4 separate regions of the Homo sapiens genome follow, and all the other regions are linked to region 3. Evidence: promoter capture Hi-C in 16 types of primary human blood cells and fetal thymus (Javierre and others, 2016). All regions are on one chromosome and are shown on one strand. The core of a region is centred on a gene start or on the middle of the fragment in contact, and the rest is flanking DNA. Distances in the headings are between cores, read along the strand shown.

The links. Contacts are between HindIII fragments. The CHiCAGO score rates a contact against its expected background, and 5 or more counts as called.
Region 1: a fragment that was not itself captured here is called in contact with the fragment with the promoter of CHD4 in region 3 in 8 of 17 cell types (naive CD4 T cells, total CD8 T cells, total CD4 T cells and 5 more); the score reaches 10.4 in naive CD4 T cells.
Region 2: a contact is called between a fragment that was not itself captured here and the fragment with the promoter of CHD4 in region 3, in 1 of 17 cell types (activated CD4 T cells). The highest score is 6.7, in activated CD4 T cells.
Region 4: a contact is called between the fragment with the promoter of GPR162 here and the fragment with the promoter of CHD4 in region 3, in 13 of 17 cell types (activated CD4 T cells, naive CD4 T cells, total CD4 T cells and 10 more). The highest score is 13.1, in activated CD4 T cells.

The regions. Positions count from the first base shown.
Region 1 is chr12:6,734,846-6,742,255 of GRCh38, reverse strand. No RefSeq gene overlaps it. Among named protein-coding and RNA genes, the nearest start is that of COPS7A, 15 kb to the right of the region's middle. The HindIII fragment of the contact is 1,764 bases long and covers 954-2,717 here.
Region 2 is chr12:6,389,689-6,397,021 of GRCh38, reverse strand. LTBR (lymphotoxin beta receptor) reads right to left here. Exons shown (of 10, transcript NM_002342.3): 9 at 6,682-6,910; 10 at 5,456-6,362. The coding sequence ends at 6,085. Among named protein-coding and RNA genes, the nearest start is that of LTBR, 9.2 kb to the right of the region's middle. RefSeq lists an enhancer at 5,549-6,361. The HindIII fragment of the contact is 2,950 bases long and covers 2,742-5,691 here.
Region 3 is chr12:6,602,867-6,609,885 of GRCh38, reverse strand. CHD4 (chromodomain helicase DNA binding protein 4) reads left to right here and starts at 2,507. Exons shown (of 40, transcript NM_001273.5): 1 at 2,507-2,586; 2 at 3,435-3,612. The coding sequence starts at 3,513. LOC124902867 (a long non-coding RNA gene) reads right to left here and starts at 4,000. Exons shown (of 2, transcript XR_007063193.1): 1 at 3,891-4,000; 2 at 576-771. RefSeq lists enhancers at 1,887-2,036, 3,777-3,936 and silencers at 2,627-2,726, 3,137-3,196, 3,377-3,426. The HindIII fragment of the contact is 30,599 bases long and covers 1-7,019 here.
Region 4 is chr12:6,817,259-6,824,851 of GRCh38, reverse strand. It overlaps GPR162 (G protein-coupled receptor 162), which reads right to left and starts at 3,031. Exons shown (of 5, transcript NM_019858.2): 1 at 2,952-3,031; 2 at 87-1,384. The coding sequence starts at 953. CD4 (CD4 molecule) reads right to left here. Exons shown (of 10, transcript NM_000616.5): 7 at 7,522-7,593; 8 at 6,310-6,431; 9 at 5,938-6,005; 10 at 4,053-5,553. The coding sequence ends at 5,523. RefSeq lists enhancers at 3,048-4,020, 4,991-5,491, 5,492-5,992. The HindIII fragment of the contact is 21,739 bases long and covers 1-7,593 here.

The sequences.
Region 1 (7,410 bases), core at 586-3,085, 130 kb before region 3:
TCCCTGCCTGGCAGCTGAGGCAGAGAGAGAGAGAGAGGAGACAGAGAGAAAGACAGCTTACGCCATTATTTCTGCATATCAGAGACTTTTAGTACTTTCACTAATTTACTACCGCTATCTAGAAGGCAGAGCCAGGTGTACAGGATGGAACATGAAGGCGGACTAGGAGCGTGACCACTGAAGCACAGCATCACAGGGAGAGGGTTAGGCCTCCGGATAACCGCGGGCCAGCCTGACTAATGTCAGGCCCTCCACAAGAGGTGGAGGAGCAGAGTCTTCTCTAAACTCCCCCGGGGAAAAGGAGACTCACTTTCCCGGTCTGCTAAGTAGCGGGTGTTGTTCCTTGACACTTTTCGCTACTGCTAGACCACCTCCCAGGTTCAAGTAATTCTCCTGCCTCAGCCTCCTGAGTAACTGCAATTACAGTCGCATGCCACCACGCCTGGCTAATTTTTTATATTTTCGGTAGAGATGGGGTTTCACCATGTTGGCCAGGCTGGTCTCAAACTCCTGACTTCAAGTGATCTGCCCACCTGGGCCTCCCAAAGTGCTGGGATTACAGGCGTGAGCCACAGTGGCCGGCCTGCTTTGTGCATTTTAAAGCGCTTTAGTTAAATGCATAGACATTTAGAATTATTGTATCTACTTGGAAAACCAAATATCTTATTATGTAATGTCTTTTTTGTTTTGTTTTGTTTTTTTTGAGACAGAGTCTCGCTCTGTCACCCAGGCTGGAGTGCAGTGGCATGATCTCGGCTCACTGCAACCTCTGCCTCCCAGGTTCAAGTGATCCTCCTGCCTCAGCCTTCTAAGTAGCTGGGATTACACGCCTGGCTAATTTTTTTGTATTTTTAGTATTGATGGGGGTTACACCATGTTGGCCAGGCTGGTCTGGAACTCCTGACTTCGTGATCTGCCCACCTCGGCCTCCTAAAGTGCTGGGATTACAAGCTTAAGCCACCAAGCCCAGCCAATGTCCCTCTTTATCTCTGGTAATTTTCTTTGCTCTGAAGTTTAGTTAACTGTTACTACAGCCATTTTCAACTTTCTTTTGGTTAGTGTTCATGGTACGTGTTTCTCCATCTTTTTACTTTTAACCGACCTATGTCATACTTAAAAGTATTTGTTTTCTTTTTTAAGACACTGTATTTCTGGGTCTTTTAAAAAAATTATTTTGGCCGGGCGCGGTGGTTACGCCTGTAATCCCAGCATTTTGTGAGGCCGGGGTAGGCAGATCACGAGGTCAGGAGATCGAGACCATCCTGGTTAACACAGTGAAACCCCATCTCCACTAAAAATACAAAAAAAATTAGGAAGGCGTGGTGATGGGCGCCTGTAGTCCCAGCTACTCGGGAGGCTGAGGCAGGAGAATGGCGCGAACCGGGGAGGCGGAGGTTGCAGTGAGCCGAGATCGCACTACTGCACTCCAGCCTGGCAACAGAGTGAGACTCTGTCTCAAAAAAAAGAAAAAAATTATTTTGATATTTTTTTAAAATAGAGATGGGGTCTCTATTCACTGTGTTGCACAGGCTAGTGTCAAAATCATGGGCTCAAGTGATCCTCACGCCTCAGCCTCCCAAAGTGCTGGAGTTAAGAAGTGAGTCTTTTTTTTTTTTCTTTTTTTTTTTTTTTTGAGACAGGGTCTCACTCTGTTACCCAGGCTGCAGTGCAGTGGCACAGTTACAGCTCACTGCAGCCTTAACTTCTCAGGCTCAAGCAATCCTCCCAACTCAGCCTCCCAAGTAGCTGGAACTACAGATGTATACCACCAGCCTATCCGTCTTTTAATTGTAGTTAGGCCATTTAAATTTAATATAATTGCCCAGGTGTGGTGACTCACACCTGTAATCCCAGCACTTTGGGAGGCCAAGGCGGGAGGATTGCCTGAGGTCAGGAGTTCGAGACTGTCCTGGCCAACATGGTGAAACCCTGTCTCTACTAAAAATACAAAAATCAGCTGGGCTTGGTGCATATGCCTGTAATCCCAGCTACTCGGGAGGCTGAGGCAGGAGAATAGCTTGAACCTGGGAGGCAGAGGTTGTAGCAAGCTGAGATCGCGCCACTGCGCTCCAGCCTGGGCGACAAGAGTGAGACTCCATCTCAAAAAAATAAATAAATAAAAATAAAAAATTAATATAATTAGTATGTTTGCATTTATCTCTTTTTTTTTCTTTGTTTCTTTCTTTCTTTTTTTTTTTTTGAGACAGAGTCTCACTCTGTTGCCCAGGCTTCAGTGCAGTGGCACGGTCTCGGCCCACTGCAAGCTCCGCCTCCCGGGTTCATGCCATTCTCCTGCCTCAGCCTCCCAAGTGACTGGGACTACAGGTGCCCGCCACCACGCCCGGCTAATTTTTTTGTATTTTTAGTAGAGATGGGGTTTCACCATGTTAGCCAGGACGGTCTCGATCTCGTGATCCACCTGCCTCGGCTTCCCAAAGTGCTGAGATTACAGGTGTGAGCCACCGCGCCCGGCAATATTTCTATTATTTATTATTTATTTTGTTTGTTCTGTTTGTAATTTCTCTGTCTCCATTTTCCAGCCTTGTATTGGTTTACTTGAATGTTATTTAGTATTCCATTTTAATTTATGTACAGATTTTTTTCACCCAGTAAATCTCTGTATCATTTTCTTTTCTTTTTCTTCATTTTTTGAGTCGGAGTCTCGCTCTGTCGCCCAGGCTGGAGTGCAGTGGTGTGATCTCGGCTCTCTGGAAGCTTCGCCTCCTGAGTTCACGCCATTCTCCTGCCTCAGCCTCCCGAGTAGCTGGAACTACAGGAGCCCGCCACCACGCCCGGCTATTTTTTTGTATTTTTAGTAGAGACGCGTTTTCACCGTGTTAGCCAGGATGGTCTTGATCTCCTGACCTCGTGATCCGCCCGCCTCGACCTCCCAAAGTGCTGGGATTACAGGCTTGAACCACCGCGCCCGGCTTTTTGTTTTGTTTTTTGTTTTTGAAACGGAGTCTTGCTCTGTCGCCCAGGCTGGAGTGCAGAGGCGCGATCTCGGCTCTCTGCAAACTTAGGCTCACTGCAACCTCCGCCTCCCGGGCTCAAGTGATTCTCCTGCCTCAGCCTGCCGATTAGCTGGGACTACAGGCGCCCACCACCATGCCCAGCGAATTTTTTTTTTTTTTTTTTTTTTGAGACAGAGTCTCGCTCCTGTCGCCCAGGCTGGAGTGCAGTGGCGCGATCTTGGCTCACTGCAAGCTCCGCCTGCCGCGTTCACGCCATTCTCCTGCCTCAGCCTCCCAAGTAGCTGGGACTACAGGCGCCCGCCACCACGCCCGGCTAATTTTTTTTTTTTTTTTTTTTTTTGTATTTTTAGTAGAGACGGGGTTTCACCGTGTTAGCCAGGATGGTCTCGATCTCCTGACCTCGTGATCTGCCCGCCTCCGCCTCCCAAAGTGCTGGGATTACAGCCGTGAGCCACCGCGCCAGGCCTAATTTTTGTATTTTTAGTAGAGACAGGGTTTCACCCTGTTGGCCAGGATGATCTCGATCTCTTGACCTCGTGATCTGCCCACCTTGGCTTCCCAAAGTGTTTGGATTACAGGCATGAGCCACCGCGCCTGGCTTTCTTTTCTTTAGTGGTCGCTCTAGGACAGGCATTGGTGACATCTCGCCTCACTGCAACCTCTGCCACCTGGGTTCAGGCAATTCTCCTGCCTTGGCCTCCTGAAAAGCTGGGATTACAGGCGCCTGCCACCTCGCCTGGCTAATTTTTGTAGTTTTGGTGGAGGCGGACTTTCACCATTTTGGCCAATCTGTTCTTGAACTCCTGACCTCGTGATCCACCCGCCTCGGCCTCCCAAAGTGCTGGGATTATAGGCAAGAGTCACTACACTGGGCCGGCAAACTTTTTCTGTAAAGGGCCAGATACAATAAATATGATGAGCTTTGTCAGCCATACAATGTGTGTTGCAACACCCAAATCTGATGCTGTAGTGCAAAAGCAACCATACATGATATGCAATGAATGAGGTGTAACTACAGTCCAACAAAACTGTATTTACAAAAACAGGCAGTGGGCTGGATTTGGCCTGTGGAATATGGTTTACTAACCCTTACTATGGGGATTACAAAATACATACTTTTCACAATCAGAGTTTTTTTCTACCACTTCAAGTTAAATGTAGAAATTTTACCACAACATAGCTCCCTTTACTGTCTCATCTCGTAGTTCTCATATGTGTTACTATAAATGACAAACACCACATACTACAAATACTGAAACTCCACATACTAAACGCTAAAAATGCTTAGTTCTAGGTGAATTTATCTATTGATTTTTAATTTTTGAGACAGGGTTTCACTCCTGTTGCCCAGACTAGAATGCAATGGCACAATCTTGGCTCACTGCAACCTCTACCTCCCAGGCTCAAGCAATTCTCCTGCCTTAGCCTCCCAAGTAGCTGGGACTACAGGCACAGGCCACCATGCCCCACTAATTTTTTTTGTATTTTTTATAGCGGCGAAGTTTCACCATGTTGCCTAGGCTAGTCTAGAACTCCTAGGCTGAAGAGATCTGCCCATCTCAGCCTCCCAAAGTGCTGAGATTATAGGTGTGAGTCACCACACCTAGCCTTCTAGGTGAATTTATTTATTTCTTGAGACGGAGTTTCACTCTTCTTGCCCAGGCTGGAGTGCAATGGCGCGATCTCAGCTCACTGCAACCTCTACCTCCAGGTTCAAACAGTTCTCCTGCCTCAGCCTCCCAAGTAGCTGGGATTACAGGCATGCACCACCACGCCCGGCTAATTTTTGTGTTTTTAGTAGAGACAGGGTTTCACCATGTTGGCCAGGCTGGTCTCCAACTCCTGACCTCAAGTGTTCCGCCCGCCTTAGCCTCCCAAAGTGCTGGGATTACAGGCGTGAGCCGCGGTGCATGGCTCTAGGTGAATTTATAATTGTTTTAAAATTATATTTAGAGAATTCCCTCTTGAGACAAACATCAAATTTATGATTTTCTTTCAGCTGTCATAAACATTTTAAAGAACTTAAGAGGAGAAAAATAATCTATTATATTTACCATTGCTGCTGCTCTTCATCCTTAATGTTCCGTGTTTCCTTTGGTGTCATTTCTCTTCTGCCTAAAGAACTTCCTTTAGGATTTTACAGCGGGTTTTCCGGTGACAAATTCTTATTTTCCTTCACCTGAGAATATCTTTATTTCACATTCATTCCTGAGCAATATTTTCACTGGATATAGGATTTTGAGTTAATTCCCTTAAGCCCCTTAAAAGTATCATTCTAGTTCCACCTGACTTTCATAGTTTCTGACGAAAAATGTGCAGTCATTTGAGTCATTTTTATCCTGTGTGAAAAGCACTGTTTTTCTGAATGCTTGTGGGACTTTTTTCTTTGTCTTTAACCTTCGGCAATTTTATTCTGATGTGTCCAGATATGGATTTTTTTTTTTTTTTTTGAGACAGAGTCTAGCTCTATCACTCAGGCTGGAGTGCAGTTGGCTTGATCTCGGTTCACTGCAACTTCCACCTCCCAGGTTCAAGTGATTCTCCTGCCTCAGTCTTCCAAGTAGCTCGGACTACAGGCATGTGCCACCACGCTGGCTATGGACATGGATTTGAGTATATCTTGTTTGCTATCCACCAAACTTTTTGAATCTGTCTTTGTCTTTTGCCAGGTTTGGGAAGTTTTTGTTTTTGTTTTTGTTTTTGAGACAGAGTCTCGCTGTTGTCACCCAGGCTGGGGGAGTGCAATGGCACAATCTCAGCTCACTGTAACCTCCACCTCCCAGGTTGAAGCGATTCTCCTGCCTCAGCCTCCCAAGTAGCTGAGATTACAGGTGCCTGCCACCACGCCTGGCTAATTTTTGTATTTTTAGTAAAGGTGGGGTTTCACCATGTTGGCCAGGCTAGTCTCGAACTCCTGACCTCAGGTGAATGGTCCAGCTCAGCTTCCCAAAGTGCTGGAATTACAGGCGTGAGCCACCACATCCGGCCTAGTTATTGCTATTTTCTGTTTGGTTCTTTATATCTTCCATTTCTTTGCTAAGACTTTCTTTACATTTGTTTCAAAAGCATTCTCCCTTTCTTCTTCCTGCATGGTTAGACTGCTTGCAGCATTTGCTTTAAATTCCAACACTTCTGCCTCCTTGGGGTTGGCTGTCTTTTCCCTGGAGAGTTATTTGTATGCTGAGTCACCTTAAATCATACTCTGGATATTTTGAATATTATGGTTTGAGGCTCTGGGTCTTGTTAAAATCTTAAGGAGCATGTTGAACATGTTGAATGGTAATTTGTTTTAGCAGGTAATCAGGTTCAGGCAGCAAGTTTTGACCTGCCTTTTTGGCACTGTGGTTTCAATGTCGGTTTTATTTTAAAAGTGTTTGCAGTGCTATTTGGATCAGGCCGGCTCGGGTGCCACCCAGTGGCCAGTCAGACCTGGACAGTGATCCATTCTGTAATTCAGTTCACAAAGCCTTAGGTAGGCTGTTCAGGGACAGATCTACGCTTGCACAGCTCAGAGCTTAGCCCAGGAGTTCATAAACTTTTACGGGATTGTTCTCTTGATTTTCCTCCCGTGTCTCTCTGACATTTTTTGGGCCCCTGGGGCTTCCCTCTCCATTCCCATATGATCGTGCCACTGTACTCCAGCCTGGGTGACAGAGCAAGACATGGTCTCAAAAGCAAAATAAAACAAAAAACAAGATGTATTTGCCAATTGACTGATAAATGAACAGTAAGTATAGGATTGTCTATCTTGCCCCATTCCCCAAATTATGCATTTCCTATTGAGGGACAGGCAGCGGGTCACAGAATGAAGCCTTTCTGCCTGCAGGCCTTTATCCCACTATTCTTCCCATCCAAGATGCTCGCCCTCTCTTTCATCAGGCTAATTCCTACTTGGGCTTCTAGTTTCAGTTTAAAGGTCATGTCCTTGGAGGCTTTTCTGACCCCAAGCAAGATGTAGATCCCAGTTAAATGCTTTCGTGTCACCCAATACTTCTTAAAGTACTTATCACACTTGTAATATATAACCATGTACTTAAGAACCTCAAAGGACAAGTTTCTCTTGCTCTCTTGCCCTGTACTCAAAAGTTTCACTTTTCCCTTCTCTCTCAGACGGTGACCTTGGGCCCCCTTACATGTCTTCCAAGGCCCTGCAGTAGCCTTTTCAGAGCCCTTGCAGAGCTGAGTCAATGAGGGTGATGAGGGCACATTTCCAGTTCACACCCCGGAGGTTCTAATTCAATAGAAAAGGGTGGAAGTGGGGTCCAGGAATGCACATTTTCAGAAGCTCCCCTGATGATTTTGATGCTGGTGGCCCAGAAAAACTGCCTGTGATAGGCAGCTTCTAACATGGTTTCCAATGATTCCTGCTTGCTGACAGCCACACCCTGTGTAACCTTCACCCCTTGAGTATAGACTGGACCTGGTAACTGGTAAA
Region 2 (7,333 bases), core at 2,967-5,466, 210 kb after region 3:
GAAATGTATGTACCTTTTAACCAGGAAATTTTATTTCCAGCAATTTTTTTTGTAGCAGTACTTCCACATGTGCAAAATGACATAGGTTATTACTGTAGTGTTGTCTGTAATAGTAAAGGTTGGAGATGAATTAAAAATTCTCAAAAGGGATCCAGTTAAATGGTACAGCCAGGTGATAGAATACCACACAGATAGAAAAATGAATGAGAACTTTTTTTGGTACTAATATGGTATTATGGCCAAGCTCTTTTAATAAATGAAAAAGGCAAGGGGAAGAACTTACAGAACATCGTGTACAGTAGTCCACCCTCCTCCAAGGGGGATACATTCCAAGGCCCCCAGTGGATGCCTGAAACCGTGGATAGCACTGAACCCGATTGCTGTCAGTCAAAACACGTTTCTGTTCATGTCTTCCACCCAGAAATTTGATGCCTTTTCCAACTTAACTAAGCACTTATCATGCACCATGACTTTTGCAGTTTAAGGTGTGACAGCAAAACTAGTTTGAATTTCTTTTTTTCTGCTTCACAACTTCATGAATAGAAGGTGCATTGTTATGCAGATCTTAGCAAAGTCATCAAAGGAAGCATATTATGGCTTCTCTTTGGCATATCTGAATGACCAGTATCACCACTCTTGCACTTTGAGGCCATTATGAAGTAAAATAAGGGTGACTTGAACACAAGCATGCAATATCTCAACAGTTGGTCTGATCACTGGGAAGGCTTGTAAGTGACTAAGGGGTAGGGAGCGTCTGCAGGGAGGAGATGCTGGACAAAGGGAGAATTCATGTCTTGAAGGGACAGGAGTAGTGTTACCAACCACAGGGCCTTGGGGGTTGTTAATGCAATAGAAGTTAACATGAGGCCAAAAGAGTTTTCCCAGACAAGGCTTTATTAGAGCTTATGCAGGGCATAAGGGAGGCAGCACGAGAGAGAGAATTCTCTGGCTGGCTCCTGGAAGAGACTCAAGAGAACTAAAGGAACTAAAGGAGAATTAAAGGAACTAAAGTGGGAAGGGAGTGAGTTTGAGCAGGTAGAGATGAGGAAATTTTGGCACCTGTTCAGTTTGATAACATGCTTCTTTATGCATCGTGTGTCTCATTAGCATGTTAAGTCTCCACCCCGGTGTGATTTTTAGTATTATAATGAAGATAAGGCAAAGGAGCGCTCATTCTTCTGGTCCTGTGGTATACATACGGGAGATAGGGTTAACTCCTTTGAGTAAGATTCAAGGTGGGAGCTGCTTATTTTAATTTCTACAACTAGTGGGTTTGGCACCTGGAGTAAGATTTATGGTGGGACGTTGTTCATCTTAGTCTCTCTAAGGGTCTGCGATGAGTGGGTATAGTACCTTGAGCAAGATTCATGGTGCAAGGTCTGGACAGTCTGGTTGGGGTCCTCACTGGCCACACACCCCCACCCCAGCTTACAATAGAGGTTCTTGGTAGGGCACGAGTGGGGCCCGAGTCCCATCCCTACTCTGTCTCAGTAGGACAGCTTGAGGTTTCATCATGCTGTTCAGAACAGTGCACAATTTAAAACAGATGAATTGTTTCTTTCCGGAATTTTCCATTTAATATTTTTGGACCACAGTTGACAGCAGATAACTGAAACCATGGAAAGCAAAATCACAAACAAGAAAAAAAAATAACAAACAAGGGGGGACTACTGTAGTACCATCTGTAGAAATAAAAAAGCAAAGGAATCTATTTATATATATTTGTTTGAATATGCATAAATTACCTCTGGAAAAGCATCAGAAACAGTAACATTGGTTGCTTCCAGAGCAGGGACCTTGGTGGTTGGGGGATAGGAGTGAAAGAGAGACATTTCACTGTTTACTCTTTGATACTTTTTGAATTTTGACCCATGTGAATAAATCAACCATCCGAAAGAGAGGAAATAAATACAATTAAAACTAAAAAAGAAAAGGAACACCAAACACTATGATTTACACAAATGGGAACTTTTTTTTTCTCTCATAAAAAGAAGCCCAGGAGTAGGTGCTGTGCTTACTTACTGTTGATTTGGGTCTCAGTGATGCCTTGGGAGCCAGGTTCTGTCCTTTCTTCCAGGTCCTCAGAGGACTGGCTTTTTATCCCCGTGGCGGTTTCCTCATGATGGTAAGATGGCTGCCACAGCTCAGGAGTGATGTTGTCACACGCAAAATCCCCAAAACAAAAAATAAGGGCCAAGGCAAACCAAAAACTTTCTCCTAATGGTGCTTTATACCCTGGAAAGGAAGACTTCCCTGTGCATGTCATTGTACAATTGCAAAGAAGAATGAGTTTATTGGCTCCTGGGATTGGGGGAAGGGCCTCTTCTCCTGATGTCACGGAATCTCTGCTCTAGTACAAAAATGCGGTTCTGTCCTTAGGAAATGTGCAGAAGTCTGTTGGACAGGCAGCAGAAAGAGTCCACCACAGCTGTCTATGTGAACCGCTTTATCTTTTGAAAAGGGAAGTTCTTACTGACCCTTGTTGGGCTGACCCTGCCGGTACTCACAGTGCTTCCTGCGGGAAAAGACTAGAGTGAGTCTCCTGTGAAGTCTCAGACTGGTGGGGAAGCCGAACGCCCACCTCCCATCCACTGTGTCCACTGGAGAAACCGAGCATCCAGGGACTCCTCTGCGTGTGGCACTGTGCGGGCTTGGGGAGGAGTGGCGTGGTCAGAAAGCAGCCATCCCCTTACCGTCCTCATGGTTTTTCTTGGCTCTGCCATCCCAGGGGATGCAAAGCTTCACTCCAAGTTCTGGGATATTCAGGGTGGTAAACTTGCCACAGGATTGTTGCTAGTTGAAATTCTGTTGGGGAGGAGAGAAGCCGGAGAACTCCTACTTTGACATTGTGTTGATGCCACTCTCAAAAAGGGAAATTCTGAATTACCCCATCCTCCCCCATCTCCCTGTGCTACTGCTCTGTCCCCAGTTCCATCCACCTTTCTTCTGGACTACAGCCTTGGCCCCCTAACGGGTGTCCCACCCCCGTGTTGATGTGGGTTGGACTTGGTGTTAGCTTTCTCCTCCCTGTGGTAGAGGATTAGGGTTCTCACAACCAACAGTTACCCCATTGTCAACTGCCATTGCATCCTGTTGCATCTTTTGAAGACCACCATCAAGAGGCTGTCTTTGTTGGTTTTCTGCCAGCTTTTCCTTGTAGACAGGAGCTCCCCTCTACGTGGCCTGTGCTCTGTGGATGTGTCCTGGAGCCTGTACTGACTCCACACTGGCAAAATAGACATGGGTAATGCTGTGGGTGGAACTGTGTCTCCCTCCAAAATCCACGTGCTGAAGCCCTAACTCCCAGGACCTCAGAATGGGGCCTTATTTGGAGACAGGGGCTTTAAAGAGGTGACTAAGTTAAAATGAGGTCATCAGGATGGGCCCTAATCCACTAAGAGAAGATTAGGACACACTCATGCACAAAGGCAAGACCATGTGAAGACATAGGTGGCAGGAAGGCCACCATTAGCAGGCCAAGGACAGAGGCCTCAGAGGACACCAACCTTGCCAACACGTTGACCTCTGACTTCCAGCCTCCAGAGCTGTGAGAAGATAAATCTCTGCAGCTTAAGCTATCGAGTCTGCAGTACTTTGTTATGGCGGCCCTAGAAAATTAATTTAGGCAGCCCAGGTGCAGTGGCTCATGCCTGCAATCTCAGCTCTTTGGGAGGCTGAGGTGGGAGGATCACTTGATCCCAGGAGTTTGAGACCAGCCTGGACAACATAGCAAGACCCCACTTCTTAAAAAAGAAATTAAAAAAAAATTAGCCAGGTGTGGTGGCACGCATCTGTAGCTCTAGCTACGTGGGAGGCTGAGGTAGGAAGATCATTTGAGTCTAGGAGCTGAGGCTATATGAGCCACGATTATACCACTGCACTCAAGCCAGGGCGACACAGTAAGACCCTGTCTCTAAAAAAATACAGGCAGGTATAATTATAAATTTGAATGGTGTCACAAAGGGCTGTGCTTCAGCATCATTTCTTTCAAAATATTTTCCTCCTTTTATTTTGTTGAAAAAAATGTATAAAATTTGTTTTTTATCTAAACACATTAGAACAATTATTAAGAATTCATGAGGTCTGGCCCCAGCATATTGCAGGGGCAGGAGGATTTAACTTTATTTAAAGATACAGCTCACCATTATTTACTTTTCAAAAAAGGAAGTTGGATGTGATATTTTCACAGTCAACCTTAAATGACCCATCCACTCCATTGGATCAGACGCCTTCTGAGGTGTGTGTTTTGCAGCCGCCCCACCCTGATGAGCTCCAGCGACAGAGTTCCTCATATCAGACCCATGAGAGTGGCCTTTTATGGAAGGAGCAGCCGGCTGGCAGCAGCTCCCTAACAATCCTGCAAGCTAAGATCCTCTCGACCGAGCACAGGAGAGAATTCAGGGGCAGGGAGGGGCAAACATTTACTAATAAGAGGGCTTGAGAAGATTTAAAGTCCTTTTTGGGGGTAAAAATAAAAGAAGACAAAAAGAAACCAAAAAAGTAAAAATCATAAATACTCTTTCTGAACCAAAAGGAGGCCAGCCTAGATTTCTGTTCACCAACAAAATGTGAACTTGGCCTCTCTCATTTTATGTCTAAAGTGCACACCTCAGGTCAGGCACGGTGGCTCTCACGCCTGTAATCACTGCATGTTCAGAGGCCAAGGCAGGAGGATTGCTTGAGCCCAGGAGTTCGAGACCAGCCTGGGCAACACAGGGAGACCTGATCTCTACTAAAAATACAAAAAATTAGCTGGGCGTCGTGGCACACACCTATAGCCCCAGCTACTTGGGAGGCTGAGGTGGGCGGATCCCTTGAGCCAGGAGTTCAAGGTTGCCATGAGCCATAATAGTGCCACTGCACAACAGCCTGAGTGACAGAATTAGATCCTGTCTCAAAAAAAAAAAAAAAAATTGCACACATTTCCCTTCAATCAACCTTGGAGAACATTTTTCACTTCGCGTGTGGCTAGATGTTTGAGAGTTGACTGAAAAGTAACACCTGCGGAACATGCAAGAGATCTGATTATTTGAGAAGGCCAGACCATTCTACCCGTTCAAAGAAATTCTGGAAGGGCGTGGTATATGAAGGCTTTTTTTTCCCCAAGAGGCCTCTAAAAGCCAGACGAACTAGGTGCAAATCCCAGCTTTGTCATTTGCAGCTGAATTGGGAAAGTTACCGCTCTGTGCCTCAGTTTCCTCATTTGTTAAATGGGAATCATATCTACCTTAGGGAGTTATTGTGAAGATTAAGTAAGTTAGTACTGTAAAGCATTGAGAACACTGCCTGGCACGTTGTCAGCCATCACTGACGAGACTGTTATTACCTGGACTATACTCACCAGCTCCTCACTGAAATATCTTTATGGGATTATATTTTAGTGTCTTGACCTTTGTCTTTGAGATTGTCTCCATGGAATAGTGTTTCTGTATAAATCCCAAGAAAATAAATTATCTAGGTCCCATTCTTTTTATTTGCATGTGGTTACAATATAAATACACTTGCCATTTTCCTCCCCTTCCAAAACTCTTCCCCATACCTAGGAATCCTACCCAACCCCCTAGTTGTTAATGACTCCCTTTCCTCTCCTCTAGGAGGGGAGGGAAGGAGCGTCCTCCCTATAATTTCATCTTCATGCAGGGTCTACCTCAGTCCACGTGAAGTGTGGAACCCCAAAGGGTCTCTGAAGCTTGGGGATGAGCACCACGAATCCTTTAGAGGGGCCCGTGACGTCCTTGCAGGTGACCGTGTGGCGGCTCCCTCGGTGCCGTGCTCCGGTGCGGCGTGCCGTAGTGGGCAGCAGTTGGTATCATGTGCCCTGTCCGTGCCTGAGGCTGAGCAGCCCCAGGGGGTGGGTGGGTCTGCCGGGAGGCCTCAGGTTTGCTCAGGCAGTAGGGAGAGTCCTGTGGAGGGCACCGTACCCAGCCAGTGCCCACCTGCTCTCAGAGGTGTCTGAGCCTTAATCCCTTAGGGCTCTGCTTCCCCGGGCCCTACTCAGGCCCCTGTGAATCCCACGTGGGCAGGGCAGCCTCAAGGGAGAAGGTGCCCTTGTGCCCCCCTTCTTCTGCCTTTTCTCAGACTCAGTCAGTCATGGGTGATAAATTGGTTCCTTGGGCCCCTGTTAGAGGGTGTGGCACCACAGTGCTCTGTCTCCGCTAGGTGCCAAGCCTTGCCATCTTCCTGGTGGGGTGTAGAGAGCCCGGGAGGGCCAGGGTCCCCCTCTTCGGGAATGGGGTATGGAGGTTCGGGGGTAGCTGGGAGGTCTCCAGGACCCGGTGGTCCCCCCAGTACTGGTCCATTGTAGATGTAGATGTTGCCAGTGATAGTCATAGACCCGCCGGTGACATGAATGCCATTGGTACCTGTAGGAAGGGAGGCAGAGTGTTGAGGAAGGAAGGCCCCCAGTTCAGGCCCGCTGCTTCTTGAATTCTTGCCTTCTTCTCGCCTTTCCCCTGGCCCCGCCCCTCTCCTGCTTGCTGCTGGTTTATTGAGCTTCTGTGTTCATTTCTCTGCTTCTGGGTTTTCCAGTCTCTTCCCTCTTCTCTAGTTGTGACACTGACTGGCAGCGGAGTCTCTGTCTGCCTCTGTTTTGGTCTTTTTATTTCATCTGGCCCACAGTCTCTCCCTGCCAGCCATCCCTCCCTCCCCATCCTTCCTCTCTTCTCCCTGCCCCAGGCTCACCGTGGGCCACCTGGCTCTGCTCCCCGGGTTCCAACTGCGGCTCCCTGGTCAGGTCCAGAGGACTCTGCTGTTGCGGCACCCCTGCCTCCAAAACTGGGGCTGCGGGGAGCCCAGTGGATACTGGGGAAACATCTCCAGAAATGGGTAGCAGTGGCTGTACCAAGTCAGGGAAGTATGGATGGGCCTTCGGAGGCTCCCAGCTTCCAGCTACAGGATTGGGTCCCTCTCCCTGCAGGAAAGAGATGGAGACCCAAACAATGATGAGGGCCCCAGACCCTTTTTTCTCTCTCCCTCCCTCCCTCTTCTTTCTCTCTTTCTCTTTCTTTCTTTCCTTCCTTCCTTTCTCTCTCTCTCTCTCTTTCTCTCTCTCTCTTTCTTTCTTTCCAGACAGGGTCAGGGTCTGTCACCCAGGCTACAGTGCAGTGGTGCAATCATAGCTCACTGCAGGCTCATGAACTCTTGGACTCAAGTGATCCTCTAGCCTCAGCCTCCTGAGTAGCTGGGACTGTCTGGCTAACTTTTTTTTTTTTTTTTTTTTGAGACAGAGTCTCACTCTGTCACCCAGGCTGGAGTGCAGTGGCATAATCTCAGTTCAACTGCAACTTCCGCCTCCACGGTTCAAGCAATTCTCCTGCCTCAGCCTCCTGAGTAG
Region 3 (7,019 bases), core at 1,258-3,757:
TGCCACCATGTCAGGCTAATTTTTGTATGTTTAGTAGAGACGGGGTTTCACCATTTTGGCCAGGCTGGTCTTGAACTCCTGACCTTGTGATCCACCTGCCTTGGCCTCCCAAAGTGCTGGGATTACAGGCATGAGCCACCATGCCCCGCTGGAATATTGACTTCTATACAGGCAGGGGAAGATGGGGAACATTATACAACTAAAGATTTTTTTTTTTTTGAGGTGGAGAATGTGGCCCCAACAAGATGAGGATGGAGGCCATTGGAGATACTATGAGACTTCAGGATATAAAATGGGAAAGTGCCTGAAAAATATGGGACATTGAGGATAAGCAGGATTTGGTGTTCAAGAATGAGGGAAACAATGCTGGTATATTGTGGAGTCTCTTAAGAAGGAAGGACATGAACATATTATAGGATTTCAGTATTAGGAATGCTGGATGGATGAACATTGCTTTCCAAGAAAAATCCCCTAGTAAGTAGGGAACAGATAGGAGATCATGTTGACTATGGTCTATACCCATAAATCCTTTAAGTATCATCTTCCAGCCTCTAGAAGGACCACGATAAATCTTATTGGGATATGTTCTCTCTTGGAACCAGTGGGATTTTATTTTCTGTAACAGGAAATTGGGAAACAGTGCTCAGCAGTTCTCCCTTGGCACCATTCTGTCGTGTATCATAGTTTGCTTGGTTGCTTATGCTTTTTGAAGGGAGGCCCCCTGGTCTTCCTTGATTCTCCATGGTGCGGAGCTCGGCCTTGCTAGGTACTCTGTCAACACAGGTTGAATGAACATGAGTAGTGGTGAGTAGCGGGAGGGCAGGCCTTCACTCTTGGTGTGTATAGAGCAGGAACCTGAGTTCACATCGTGATGGGATGTCCATCCCCAGGAATGGCCTGGGGGTGTTGGTGAAAGATCCCTGACCTGGGGATGTGGTGAGGGGGAGGATTGCTAGAATGTTGAGAGATAGTCTTTGGATGGGAGTTGGTAATTATTATGGGATGCTGTAGGGTGAATTAGACTTCATGTAAATGTTTCATCTGTCAGCTTGGTATTTTGGTTGGTTGGTGTTCCTCAAAACTTAGGAGCTGGAGGTAAGCATCTGGAAAATACCTAGATTTTGGTGGGACTGGGTGGGGCCCTAGGTGGGCTCCCAGCCCCCGAGTGTCTGGAAATGATGGTATGAGGGAAGCTGGGGTCCCAGACATCAGGAGGCTTTTTGCCAGGATACTACTTTGGCCCAGAAAGGGATTAAGGTGTGTGCAAGTGGGGGCGGGGACAAGGAAGCGTGGGTAGCCTGCCTGGCCCTCCCTGCTCTGGGTGTTAGAATAGACTGACAGCGCCTGGAGATGGGGGTGGGAAGAATATGAATATTATGGGATGCCTGGCTCGAAGGGTATAGGGGTGGTAGAGTGGAGATGAAGCATTATGGGATGTGACACTGGGTTGTGTTGGGAGTATTATGGTATGTTTGGTTGACCACGGGCTCCTTGCAATTATTATGGGATGTCAGGATGTGGGTAGGAGAGTAAAATTATTATGGGATAGCTTTCCAGTGTTAGAGGAAAAGAGATTAGATGTCCATCTGTGGGGCGACAGTAGGGCTGTTGATCATTATGGGTTATCTTTTTGATAGAGGAGGGGTACTTACTATAGGCTGTGGAGCTAGAAGAGGGAAGGCTGGGGGTGATGTGAGCCTCTAGACCCTGGCCTGCAGGGACTGAGGGCAGCTCTAGGGGGTTAGTTATTATGGGATGTCAGTATAGAAAGTGGGAGACTGATTATTACGGGATGTGTGTGGGAGGAGGCCGAGTGTCCGTTGTTGTAGTATGGGGGGGGGTGAGTTTCTGACTATTATGGGATATCAAACTGGGGGTGGATGAAGGATGGTTATTATGGGATGTCTGTGGGGGATGGGGCTGAATATTATGGGATATGAGGCATAAGTGCTGCGAGGGGTGCTTATTATGGGATGGCCATGGGGAGGGAGGGGTGATGAATTATTATGGGATGTTAGCATTAGGTCCAAGAGTGAAGAAGAAGTTGGCAAAGGATGTCTATTATGGGATGTCTAAGAGGGTTAGTTGCAAAAGGTCTGCAATATTTTGAGATGTCAGCAGTCTCTGGCATATGTGTATGAAATGTGGGGGGGCAGGGTGTGTGTGTGTTGTGTGTGTGTGTGTGTGTGTGTGTGTGTGTGTGTGTGTGTGTGTTGGGGGGGGGGGTGTCCGTGTGTATTATGGGATGGCCAGGAGGTGGGCGGTTGCCCAGGTGACGCGCGCGCGCCCGCTGCGAAGGGGGCGTGGCCAGTGGTTGCCTGAGCGACGAGGGGGCGGGGGTTGCCCGGGAGACCTGGGGAGGAGGGTGGCGGTAGTGGAAGGGGGGGGTTGGAGTTGGTTGAGGTTATTATGGGCTGTCCGTGGGGGGGCGGGGCCTGTGCGGTGGGATTTCCCGGCCGGTGTTTCAGGCCCTTTAAGAGGCGACGCTGGAGCCGGAGCCATTTTCCCCCCTTCGGCCGCGGCGAGGAGGAGCCGGAGCGGGAGTGACACCGAGCCGGACCCAGCGCGACCTGCGGCGGCTCCGGGGTGAGGAGAGCGCGGGGTTCCCAAAGAGACGCCCCTCACGGCCCTACCAGCCCCGAGGGTCATCCCGTCACCCGCCCCTTCCTCAGGCGTCTCCGGACCCGCGGACCGCCCCTTGCCCAGAGGAGCCGACCCTTCCTTTCCTGGCCCTGCAGGGCGCCCGGCCTCCTCCCCAGCCCCCGCCCTAACCCTGCCGGAGTCTTGCTCCCCGCGACCCCCCGCCTCCGGCTTGGTCTCCCACAATGCCCGGCGCCCACCCCCTCGCCCTTTGATCACTTGCCCCCCGGGACACGTGGCCCGGCCCCCTTCCCGGTGGGACGCTTTCGCCCCCCGCGTCCCTGCCTCCGGCCCCCCGCAGCGCCCGAGCCTCCACGCCCCCTCGTCCCCGCAGCTCTTGAGGAGAACCTGAGTTGTCCCAGAGGACAGCCTTTGGAGAGCTGCCCTGTCTGGGGACTGGCCCCTCCCCGGGCGCAGGGAGGCGCCCCCCCACCCCCAAGTGACCTTGTGTCCCCGAGCGCCTCGCCGCCTGCGGCCTCCCCTGGCCCCCCCGCGCCGCTGCCACTCGGACCCCCTCCCCCGTCACACCCCGCTCGGTCCAGCCCCGCGTCTCCCCTCCCCGCGCTTGCACCAGCCTGCCCTCGGAGGCGTCGCTCCCTCGCTCCGTGGGGGCGCCTGCCGGGGAGCCGGCTTCCGGGCTGCCCCCGAGGAGTGTGGAACTAAGTTCAGCCTGAGCGGTTCGGGTGCCCTGCTAGGGTGGCTGGGGTGGGGGGCGGAAAGAGCGGGTGGGTGTGGGGGAGGGGGACAGTGCGCGTCACTGACTGTTCTGTGTTTCTCCCCCCTCCCCCGCACAGTGACTCGGGCCAGTGTAGAGGTCCTCAGGCCGCCGGCAGGAGCAGCTGGGCCAATTCCCTGGCCGGGAGCGGAAGGGGATGGCGTCGGGCCTGGGCTCCCCGTCCCCCTGCTCGGCGGGCAGTGAGGAGGAGGATATGGATGCACTTTTGAACAACAGCCTGCCCCCACCCCACCCAGGTAACATCTTCCCCAAGGGCCCATGGCGGGAAGGAGACATCTGGGGCTCTCCCGAGTGACTCCTCTGGTGAGGCAGGGCTGTGTTGCTCCGCTGTCTCTGTGCAGAGCCGGAGGTGGAGGGTATCCGAAGGGAGTGGTTCCCTTCTGCGGAGCTCTGGTGTGAGGGGGGTGGAAGCCATGTGCCTCCTGGGCACGGAGATGCCAGCTTGCTGCACTCTGTCTTGAGGAATGCTCTGCAGTTCCCAGTTGAGGGAGCTCTCTGGGCTGGCAGGCATTACCTGGTATGTGGGTCCTCGGAGGAATGCAGGTAGCTGGGACCCCTGGAGGCTTGTGGTGGTGGTGGTGGAGGGGGGCGTTGAGGATTCTGTTTGAAAGACCAGCCGGGCATCTGTGCTAGTAGGATCCTGTGGTTGCTGCTGTGGAAAGGAAAGAGGGAGTGCTGGTTACACTCTATCTGATTATTTTTAGCTTCTGATCGGTTACCGGTTTTCTGTGCTGTCTGAACTGTGTGAAGTTTGAATCGCGCTCCTCAGCAGGATCTGGAGTGCTTAAAGCAGCCAGGCAGATTGCTGGAATGTTTTGAGTGGGGAAGTGATGGGGGCTCGGGGAGGATGTAATAGCCTAGTGAAGAGGGGCAAAAGAAGGGAGGGCACTCCTCCTCCTGGTGAGTGGACATAGTTTTGGCTTTTTTCCTAGTGGCTTCTGTCTCTATGAGGTAGCCTGCGGTTTAGGCTGGCAGTGTGAAGTGTCTGTGTAGGTGTGCTAGGGGTTACGCTATCTGTGTTTTGGGGTGGCTTCATGAACTGGCCAAACCCGTATGGTTGTAACCACCCTGTCTGATTGGGGGAACTGTTGTCTATCCTCAAATGATGGTTGATGTCATGCCCCTAAGCAGATGTCTTTCTCTTCTGTGTCCTTTTTCAGAGCCCCTAGCTGTGTCACCTACTCATCTCCTTGACCTTCATGTTTTCTAGTTTAATTTTTTTTTCTACATGTCATTTCTTCATTCCTTCTGCTTCTAGTTTTCTTCTCATTCTGGAGCCTGCTGATCCTGTTTTTGTTTCTCATCCAGCATCATTCACTTCTGCCTTCTCTCTTCTTAGCTTCAGTGGAAGTTGAGGTGGTCTGGGAGAGATGCTTTCACATTTGGCACTTTTTAAGTTGGAATTCTTCACTTCAACCTGAGGCCATTTAGGAGAGGGGTTAGTGTTGTCATGGAGTCTGGGCTGTTGGGATGAGAAACTTGGTTTCATCCTTGTGTAGAGTAGGGGGCAGATTTCCATGCCCTTGCCCAAGGTGAGGGCGGAGTTGTGGTGCTGGTAAGGGGACCCTGTCCTTCTGAGAGGGGCATGAGAAACAGTAGTGCTGCCTAAACATTCTGGGTTCCACGTCTTGGCCTCCCATTGGCCACTTGGGCTGGGGCTGCCTTTCATGTTGACCGGGAGCTGCGCAGGAGCTGTGAACTCTGTCCTGAGCTGTAGCATGACCCACTTTTTCCACTTGCCACACCCCATTCCTGTCCCTTTCCTAAATCTTCTCTATATCTCAGTAAGTTTGCGGTTTGCCATTTCAGCATATTATTTGCCTGAGAAGTTTGGGGGGCTCCATGTGCATGGAAGGATGTCCCCTTTGCCTCCATGGGTTGTCTTTGTCTCCACTTCCAGCTTTTATGGGGGTGGTGAGATGTAGCTGATGGGGGTTGGGGGTTGACTTGGGGATTGGTGGGGAAAAGTCCTTAAGAAAATGATTCTTTCTGGTGAAATCCAGGCTGATGTTGCATTCCCAAGGGGGAATGGGAGGGGCGTTCTTGTGCCTGGTCTTATTCTGGGCTGAGAAGCAGGGAGGCTGATGGTGCTTTGTCCAGCCTAATGTCTCATTCCCTAGTATCTGTCTAGCTCAGGAAGTGGGGAGCCAGAGACATTTTAGGGCTAATTTTGGGGGTTAAGAGCTAAGAACATGTCAGGGATTGAAGGAGGGATATTATTTTCTTTTTTATTTTTGAGATGGGGTCTCACTCTGTCGCCAAGGTTGGAGTGCAGTGTGCGATCTTGGCTCACTGCAACCTCCGCCTCCCGGGCTCAAGCGATTCTCCTGCCTCAGCCTCCTGAGTAGCTGGGATTACAGGCACCCACCACCATGCCTGGCTAATTTTTGTTTTTTTAGTAGAGACAGGGTTTCACCATGTTGGCCAAGCTGGTTTCGAACTGACCTCAAATGATCTGCCCGCCTCAGCCTCCCAGAGTGCTGCGATTACAGGCATGAGCCATTGCACCCGATTGGGATATTCTCTTCTACCACTGTCTAGGTCCTGCTCTGTTTTTTTGTGCAGACATTCCCATATGTTGGATAGGAATCTGGGTGGGAGTGGTGAGGAAGCTGAGCTTCAGAGACTTCTTGTGGGCCTCCATTCCTCAAACTAAATCTTTTGGGTATCAGAAATTTGGGGAGAAGGTTGTATGCGCTGACCACAAGTCCACTGAGCCTTTGTTAAATCTCAGCTCTGATGATTGAAAAAATAATTATGATTGAGGGAGTGATCGAGTTCTTCTCTTAGTATTACCTTCATGTTTGTCTCGCTTTCCTTGGGTTTCCTTGCTTAGGATGTTAGGGTGGGCTCTTGTGAACTGTTGTCATCCCAGAGTAGGTGGCATTTGGACCTGGGGCCAGGTAATTTGGGGAGGCTTCTATGAGGGCAGTCTCCCCCCCCGCCACCCCACCTCTCTCAAACCCACCCCCTCCCCTGCCACTTCCTGTCTGTCCTATGTTGGCAGCTGGGTGCCCTGGGCTGGCTTCTGCGGTCAGGAGCCATTTTCCCTCTCCTCAGTGGGTGAGGCACTCCCTTCTTCTCTCCACTCCTTTCTCTACCCACCCCCCTTTGGGCGGGGGTGGCTTGGGAAGAGGGAGAGAGGAGGGAGGAGGGAGTCGGAGCCAGTGTGAATGTCTGTTACAAAGGAAGCTGCCTCCTGGTCTTCTCTGTGTCCCTTCCCACCTATCCTTGCCCAGGAGCTTTCAGTCTTACCCAGGCTTTGTGTGTGCCTCCAGCCAGGGGAGGAGGTGGAGCCAGATGGGAGGAGGCTTGCTGGGGGGCGGGTGTAGGGGAGATGGTGACAGCTGGGCTGATTCGGGCCCCTAGGGAGAAGAGGCTGCTGACCCAGGAGAAGCTGAGGAGGAACATTAGGGTTGGAGATGGGGAAAGGAAATTGTATTTTAGAAGTGGGCATGAGATTGAGCTGGCACCTGAACCTAGGACTTGGAGGTTCTGGTTAATTTGAGCAGTGATGACTTCAAAGTGGTTAGAGAAGGGTGTGGTTTCCGAGACCCCTGAACTGATCCTGTTCTGGGAAGGTATATTCTATAGTTTTTGCCTTCTGAGTAGGATCTTTCATTCTCATTCCCTGGTTTATAGA
Region 4 (7,593 bases), core at 1,782-4,281, 210 kb before region 3:
CTGTATGGCTGATGAAGTTGGAGGTCAGGTGATGATGCTGGGGCCTGGATATTGGGGAGAACAGGTGGGGAGGACCCCGATCTCACCAAGATGGGCACCCCTGTGAGTGAGTCATAGAGAAAGACGATGGCGCTGACCAAGTTGGTGACCTGCAGGGATGTCTTGGCAGACTCCGAGCCATCCAGCGAGGACCGCCGCTTCCCTCGGGCATCCTCCACCACAATGGCTGGTACCTCAAAAGCTGGCCGGGTACCCAAGGCCCCTGGCCCACCCGCTTTGGTCCCCCCACCACCCCCCACTCTCCGGGCCTGCCGAGCCCTCCGGGGCCGGGCCCACAGTGTCTGGTAGAAGGTGATGGCCACACAGACCAGACCCATGACAATTCCCCCAAGTAGCAAGAGGCTGAAGCAAACGCCAAAGCCGAGGCCGATCTTGGAGACTATGAACTGGCAGCCGCGGGCATAGTAGCGCTCGCCGTTGTTGTGCCAGCCAATGGAGGGCAGTGTGGAGAGGATGAAGCTGACCATCCAGATGCCCATGACGGCATGCAGTGCCTGCTTCTTGGCGTTGCTGAGGCGGTAGTTGACGGGCCAGCGCACCATCCACATGCGATGGTAGGAGAGGGAGGCGACCGTGAAGCAGGTGGCCAGCGCCAGGGTGTAGTAGGTGGACACGAAGACCTTGCAGATACTCTCGTTCCAGTCATAGTCGGAGGAAGCCTGACGACGCAGCTGCACCACGGCAAAGGTGGTGAGGGGCACAGCTGCCATGAGTATGTGTGTGCCCGCTAGGAAGCAGAGCAGCAGCTCCAGTGGCTTGTGCTTCTGCTGCTTGGCCGAGATGCTGAGGATGATCCAGGCATTGGCCAGCAGCGCCAGGAGCCCACAGGCCAGCCAGGACAATGCGTTGGAGCGCAGGGAGGCCTCCTCTGCCCCCGCCCCGCCCCGAGCCATCCTATCCTCAGCCCCCCACCCCCTTGAGCTCTGTGGGGGTGGGGGCTAGGTCTCACCCAGGAGCCCCACTCACAAACACTCCCATGATCCCCACAATCCTCGCCCTGTCAGCAGGCAGGCTGCCCCCAGGCTCACCCCAGTGCTCAGCATTGCATGATGGACCCAGCTGAGGGCAGATGTAGAGGGCAGGGGAGGAGACTGAGGGTCAGCAGAGGCAATCCTCAGCTTTCATACTGGGCGGGGCCTTCCTTAAGCATCCCTGCAATTGATGGGGCAGGCAAGCTGGCTACTTTCCCAACTATGAGGCTGGCTGGGGGGTTCTGGTCCCCATGCTGGGACTTCCAGGTCTCTTTTGCCTCTGGTTCTTGACCAGTCAGGAATCTTCTGGATGCCCCAGGGATTTGGGGGTGGGGCTCAGCCCCCTGGACAGGCTGCAAGGGAAAGATGAGATGTGGGAGGGAGAGGGCAAAGGTAGGGCCTGGGCTGGTCTCCAATCAGCCTCCTGTGCCCCCTTTCTTGAAACTATAGGCATGACTGATTACTAAGGCCCTGAGGGTCATTCAGAACATTCCTTTGCCTTAACTCTGACAGCTAAACACCCCACACAGATGAGAGCCGCACTCTTCCAGACCTCTAGGGAAGAAGGTATTCCCACCTCCCTGTCTCCTTTAGCCCTTCCTCCTCCCGCTGGAACTCCCAGGTTCCTTCTTAGAACATCCCCTGCTCAGCACTACTCCACCCCTATCTTCAAGTCCCTAAATGTCTCTTCAGAACTACTGATGGGAGACACAAGACTGGTTTCCTCTTGAGGGTTCACAGTGAACTGGGATATGGCATCACAGCCTTCCTCCCCTACCTGCCGGTCTCCTGGATGCAGGGGTCTTGGTGCTTAGCCCCTACTTCCCCAAACCTGGGTGATCACCCTCCAGCTACCCATATCTGGGAAAATGGGAGAAAGGAGTCTGGGACCGAAGGGGGTGCTAGGGAACCTGAAGGCGGGGAAACCGCTGACATCAGAAGCATCCAGAAATGGAAAGAGGGGGAACTAGGGAGAAGGAGGAGAGTTTGAGCAGAAGAGAAAGAGGGGGCAAAGTGGTAGTATCTGAAAATAGCAGGAAAAGCTCAAACCCCCTGGAGAGGAGGCTTTGGAGGGAGGAGGGACTGGAGGAGGGAGGGAGGGAGGGAGCAGGGAATAGGAGGCTGAGAAGAAAAGCCAAATGTTCAATAAGGTGCTGACTCCCCGTGGGGAGACCTTGACTCTTCCTCCCTGGCCCAGAGCCTCAGTTTCCCTCTCATGGGAGGAAGGATGGTCCCAGTTTTAGTGCGTGATGCTGAGCTTCAGTGAGCCCTGGGAAGGGGGGTAAGGGAATCGGGTGAAACCCTGAACAGAGTGGGGCTGTAAGGAAGCACATAATGGCTTTAGGGTAAGTGGGGTAAAAATGGGGCACAGCAGTGAAAGGGTCTGTTTCCCATGGAAGCAGCTCAGACCCTTGCTTTCCCCAAGAGGTCCTGGTCCACCCCCACCCTTGGCTTCCCTCCGGAGCCCAGTACACCCTAGTTGCCATGGCAATGGCCAGCCAGAGGGAGGTGGAGGGACTTGGCCAAGAGCAGCCCCCAGTGTCCTCTCCTACAGCCCTGGACCCCTTCCCACCCACCTCCACCCAGGCCCAGCTGGTGGGCTCAGGATGAAAGAGATAGGGAGTCAGAGAGGGAAGGAGGCAGGAAAGATGTGAAGGACAGAGAGAGGGAGGTGAAGGACAGGGAGAGATCAGAGGAAGGTGGGAAGGGGGATCTGGGAGGTTCCCTGGCCGACGGGGTCCCTCGCCCTTTGGGGTGAAGGGGTAAGGTCAGGCGGCTCCTCCCTCCTGTCCCCCTCCAGGTTCTCCAGGGCAGAAACAGCAGGTGGCTGGGGAGGAGGGGCCGGCCTAGGGGAGAGGAGGCAGCTTGAGGGGGAAAGGGAGGCAACACAGGGGACGGGGCAGGCAGGGGTCGTCTTACCTCTCTCCGGCTGCGCCCAGCACTGCCATGGAGACCGCACTCCCGACGCGGCTCTCTCGGGCTCCCGCTGCCTGCCGGCTCCAGCTCGCCCGCCCTCCTCCCTCCTTCCCTCTCTCCCTCCCTCCCTTCCCCCGGGCCTCCCTCCTCCCCCTCAGTCCCGGCCTCCCAGGCTCAGCCCACGGCTCACTCGGTCTCTGCCCCTCTCACTCTCCAGGACCCTCTCTCCCGGGGTCGTCCTGCCAGTGAGCCCAGGCCAGAGGGAAGGCAGGACAGCTTTGTGGGGGGCGGGGGGGGGCGGGAAACGAGTGCAGGGTGGGGAACTGGACGGTGGTGACTCGGGGAGGAGGGGCAAGGAAGGCGCTGAGAGGGAGGGCGGTGAGGAGGATGGCTGGGAACCGGCTTCATTGGTGAAATGGTTCATGTCCTGCCCCCACCCCTTCCCGTTTTCAACACGAACACAAGCTCCAAGAGGCAGCTGGTGTTGTTGGGGACTGAGGAGCTAGCTGTTCGGGGAGGAGGAAGCGTGTGTCACTGTGTGTATCTGTGTGAGGGCTGGGCCTTGGGTTTGGGAGTGAGGGGGCTTGTGGTGCACACTGGGGCTGCTTGTGGAGTTGGGGGTGGTTGTGCACAAGCTAAAAGGATGTGGGCGCATGCATGCACACAGACACACACACTCTGCCTCCTCCTCCTGGAACACAAACACATATGTTGGGGATACAATTTGCACACACATGTTACAGTTTCTCATAGTCCTTTTTCTCTGCCACACACATACACCAGGAGAGCTCACACAACCCTGAGTCTCTCCCCCACGGTATATCACACACATGTAATTACAGAGTCTCAGCCTCACACACACACAGGCCCACACAGAGCCCTGTGGGTTGTGGAGGTGGGTAGCCAGCCTCCACAGAATTTTTCCCTCTCCAGGGAAACTTCATCTCCTTCCTGGGGCACGCCCAGCAACCTCTCCTCTGGGTCCGACCCCAAAGACCAGAAGATTCCTGGTCCCCAGAGAAGGGGTCTCTCTCTCTCTCTCTCTCTCACACACACACACACACACACACACACACACACACACACACGAAGAGCATCTTTATAGTAAGTTTATTGTATTTTTATTTCAGCTCAGGGGAGCAGGGGTGGAGAGTGGGCACAAATGCAAAGTAAGCAAATGGGGAGCCCCAGCAGCAATAGGGGGGTCTTCCTGGAAGAGGCAGGCTTTAAAGACAGGAGGAGAAGGAAATAGGGAAAAGGAGTTGGGACTGAGGGAAGTGGTGAGGAAGGGTAGGAAGAGAGGGGATCCTGAGAGAAGTGGATCAAGAAGATTTGTAACCCTGATTTCCCTGTGTCCTGAATGGTCTGGAGGAGGGTAAGGGAGGGTGTGGGGCAGGCGCAGAGCCTGGCACAATCACCTTTGAGGTCCCTTAGAGGGTTCCCTCTCAGGCTAGCTACCCCCTCTCCCAGCAAAGCTCGCTTCCAGGAGGTTCTGCACAGGGTCAGTGACTGGTCACTGGGCATTCTCTCCTGCAGTGCCTGTGCTCCCAGCTTGCGCTCTGATTAGAAGAGCCAAAGGCTTTGTCCTCTGGTAACAGATTCTGCCACCAGCGGGGGATGAAGGAGGGATTTTAGACAGGGAGGCCTTCATCCCTGCTCGTAAATTCTCTGAGATGGACCCTTCCCATGGGTGCTGTGCTTCTGTGAACCCAAAAGTACACATTGAGTACCCACCACTAGCCACTGGTGAGAGCCGTGTGGCATTTGTCCCTGCATTCAAGAGGCAGCAGTGGAACTTGGGACAAGGGACCTGGGTTAGTCCCGACTCCAGCACTTGCTAGTCCGGCACTTGGTAATCAATCATCTAGCCTCTCTGAGCTCTGGTTCTGGTCTATAAACTGGAGATGATCATCTTAGTTCTGTCACTGCCAGCCTTGTAGGATTTTTCTAAGTCTCAAATAGACAGAGGATGTGAGACATCCCTTGAGGCCGTGTACATGGGGCTGTGTCCAGAGGGGCTGTTTGTGCAAGGTCAGGATGTGAGTCTGTGGTCCCACCCACATAGGGTGAGAAGCGGGCAGCATGGGGCAGGAGGTACTGGCTGCCAGAAACCTCTGGATCTGCATCCATCCTTGACTGGCTTGGCTGTGTGATTTTGTGCAAGTTCCTGCCCTCTGTGGTCCCAGGGTCCTGTCTTGTAAAAGAACAGTCCCATGCTCCATGCTTCCAGACACCCAGCCTCACCCTCCATGCCAGCCAGGGCTGGCCCTGAACACTCCCCTGGGATCCAAATGAGCAGTGGGGAGAGGGTCAGAGAGAAATAATGAGAGAAGGGCTAGGCTTGAAGGAAAAGGAAATGGCGTGGAGGACGGTGTGATTAAGCCTCTGGAAACTAGAGAGCAACACTCAACCAGTGAAGCCGGGGCCTAACCCAGGAGAAACAATGGCAAATTGTAGAGGAGGCGAACAGGAGGCCAGAGGCTGGGGATCTGCTACATTCATCTGGTCCGCAGGCAGGAAACGCGGGGCAGACACCTGGGGAGGCTGCAAGTGGGATCTGCCTGGCCTCGTGCCTCAAATGGGGCTACATGTCTTCTGAAACCGGCTGCAGGAACAAAGAAGAAGGGGAGCAGGTCTGTCCCCACTGCAACCCCTTTGCGTTCTAGCACCTCCAATGGCCTTTCCAGCGCAGCACAGCTCCAGTGGCTTTCCAGCAGGGCCTTTCCTGGCCTGCTGCTCCTTCAGCTCCATCCTCCCACTTCTGCCTCCTTCTAGCTCCTGGCCATCTTTTCCCACCCCTCTATCCTCTCCACCACACCCCTTTAGCCCCCATCTCCTCACCTCCACCCCTCCCAGCTCTTCCTCCTCAACTCCTTCCTCCTCTCCATCCTCCCTTCCTGCCCCCCTTTGCTCCCCTTCCTCCCCCTCCTCTCTAACTCCCTCCCCCTCCCCCTTTCCCCTCTCTCAACCCCTCCTCCCAGATCCTTACTGAGGACACTGGCAGGTCTTCTTCTCACTGAGGAGTCTCTTGATCTGAGACATCCGCTCTGCTTGGCGCTGTCCAGGGACAAGAAAGGGAGTCACGAGGGTCCCAGGCCTCCAGAAGGGAGGTGCCCCTTGGTGGGGGGAGTGGGGGAAGCTGCGACAGGAGAAGCAGTTACATGGCCCAGGCCATCTATCCTGGAATTAACTCTCTGCTCCTTCCTGTCTCTCCCTTGAGTGGGATCTGGGACAGGGCAGCAAGGGAACTTACGAGTGGGCAGAGGGAGCTGGGCCAAAATCAGTTCCCATATACAGGATCTCCTGGTAGAGGACTCAGGGGTTTGAGGGCCTTGTGGGGACCAGGTGTGGGGTTACTCACCCTTCGGTGCCGGCACCTGACACAGAAGAAGATGCCTAGCCCAATGAAAAGCAGGAGGCCGGCGACGCCCCCCAGCACAATCAGGGCCATTGGCTGCACCGGGGTGGACCATGTGGGCAGAACTGCAAGGGAGAGAAATGTGCTCAATGCACCGCCCTCCTCCACGGGCCAGGGGACTGAGGACTGCCCTGCAATCCCTCCTGGCCAGTCTCTGGTTTGACCCTGGGGTTGGGGGAGAGGGGAGGGGTGCCTGGGGGCTCTCAAAGGCCGCCAGTGCTGGGGAATCGGTTTTATGTTTGGGCATATCCATATCCAGGGCACTCTGGAGAGAGAGAAGCTGTGGTCTGGCTCCTGGGCTGTGTGTGTGAGTGCATGTGTGTGTGCATGTGTGAGTGTGTGCATGTGTGTGCGTGTGTGAATGGTGTGAATGTGTGTGTGTGCGCGCGTGTGCGCGTGTGAGTCCATGTGTGAATGTGTGTGCGTGTGTGCATGTGTGTGAATGTGTGCCTGTGTGCGTGTATGAATGTGTGTGCGTGACTGCATGCATGTGCGCGCGCGTGTGTGCACATGTGTGAATAATGCGTGTGCGGATGTGAGTGTATAAGTGTGTGAGTGTACGTGTACGACAGTGTGTGGGTGAGAGTATGTGCGTGAATGTGTAAGTGTGTGTGTGCATGCATGTGTGAGTACATGTGTGTGTATGAGTGTGTGACAGTGTGTGAGTGCATGGGTGTGAGTACATGGGGTGAGAGTGTGGGTGTGAGTGTGGATGTGTGTGTAGTGTGTGTATGAGTGTGTGCGAGTGTGTGAGTGATGTGTGTGCGTGTGTGAGAGTGTATGGGAGTGTGTGCATGTGTGTGAGAGTGTATGTGTGTGAGTGTGTGTGTAAGTGCGTCTGGATTTGGAGAAAAGCCAGGAGCCAGGGAGGGGGGCTCTCGGTCAGGTGGACCCCATCCCTAGGCTGTAGACCTGAGGGAGTGGGAACTTGTAGAATTACAACTGGCAGCCTAGAGCCCAGGACCACAACCCACCTCACTTCATCACTTCTATGCCTCCTTTTGGGGCCTCCAAAGCACCCTGGGACCACAGAGGACACCATACCCATAACCCCCCAACTCAGGCATTGGGAGGCCGGGACTCTGGGTGGTCTCTGCCAACCACAGGAAGGTCCCGCAGCCCAGGAGGCAGAGGCCTTGGAACCTGGGTCCTTACCCTTGATGTTGGATTCCAGCAGGACCTGTCCCGAGTCACTCAGCAGACACTGCCACATCCCCGCCTCAGGGT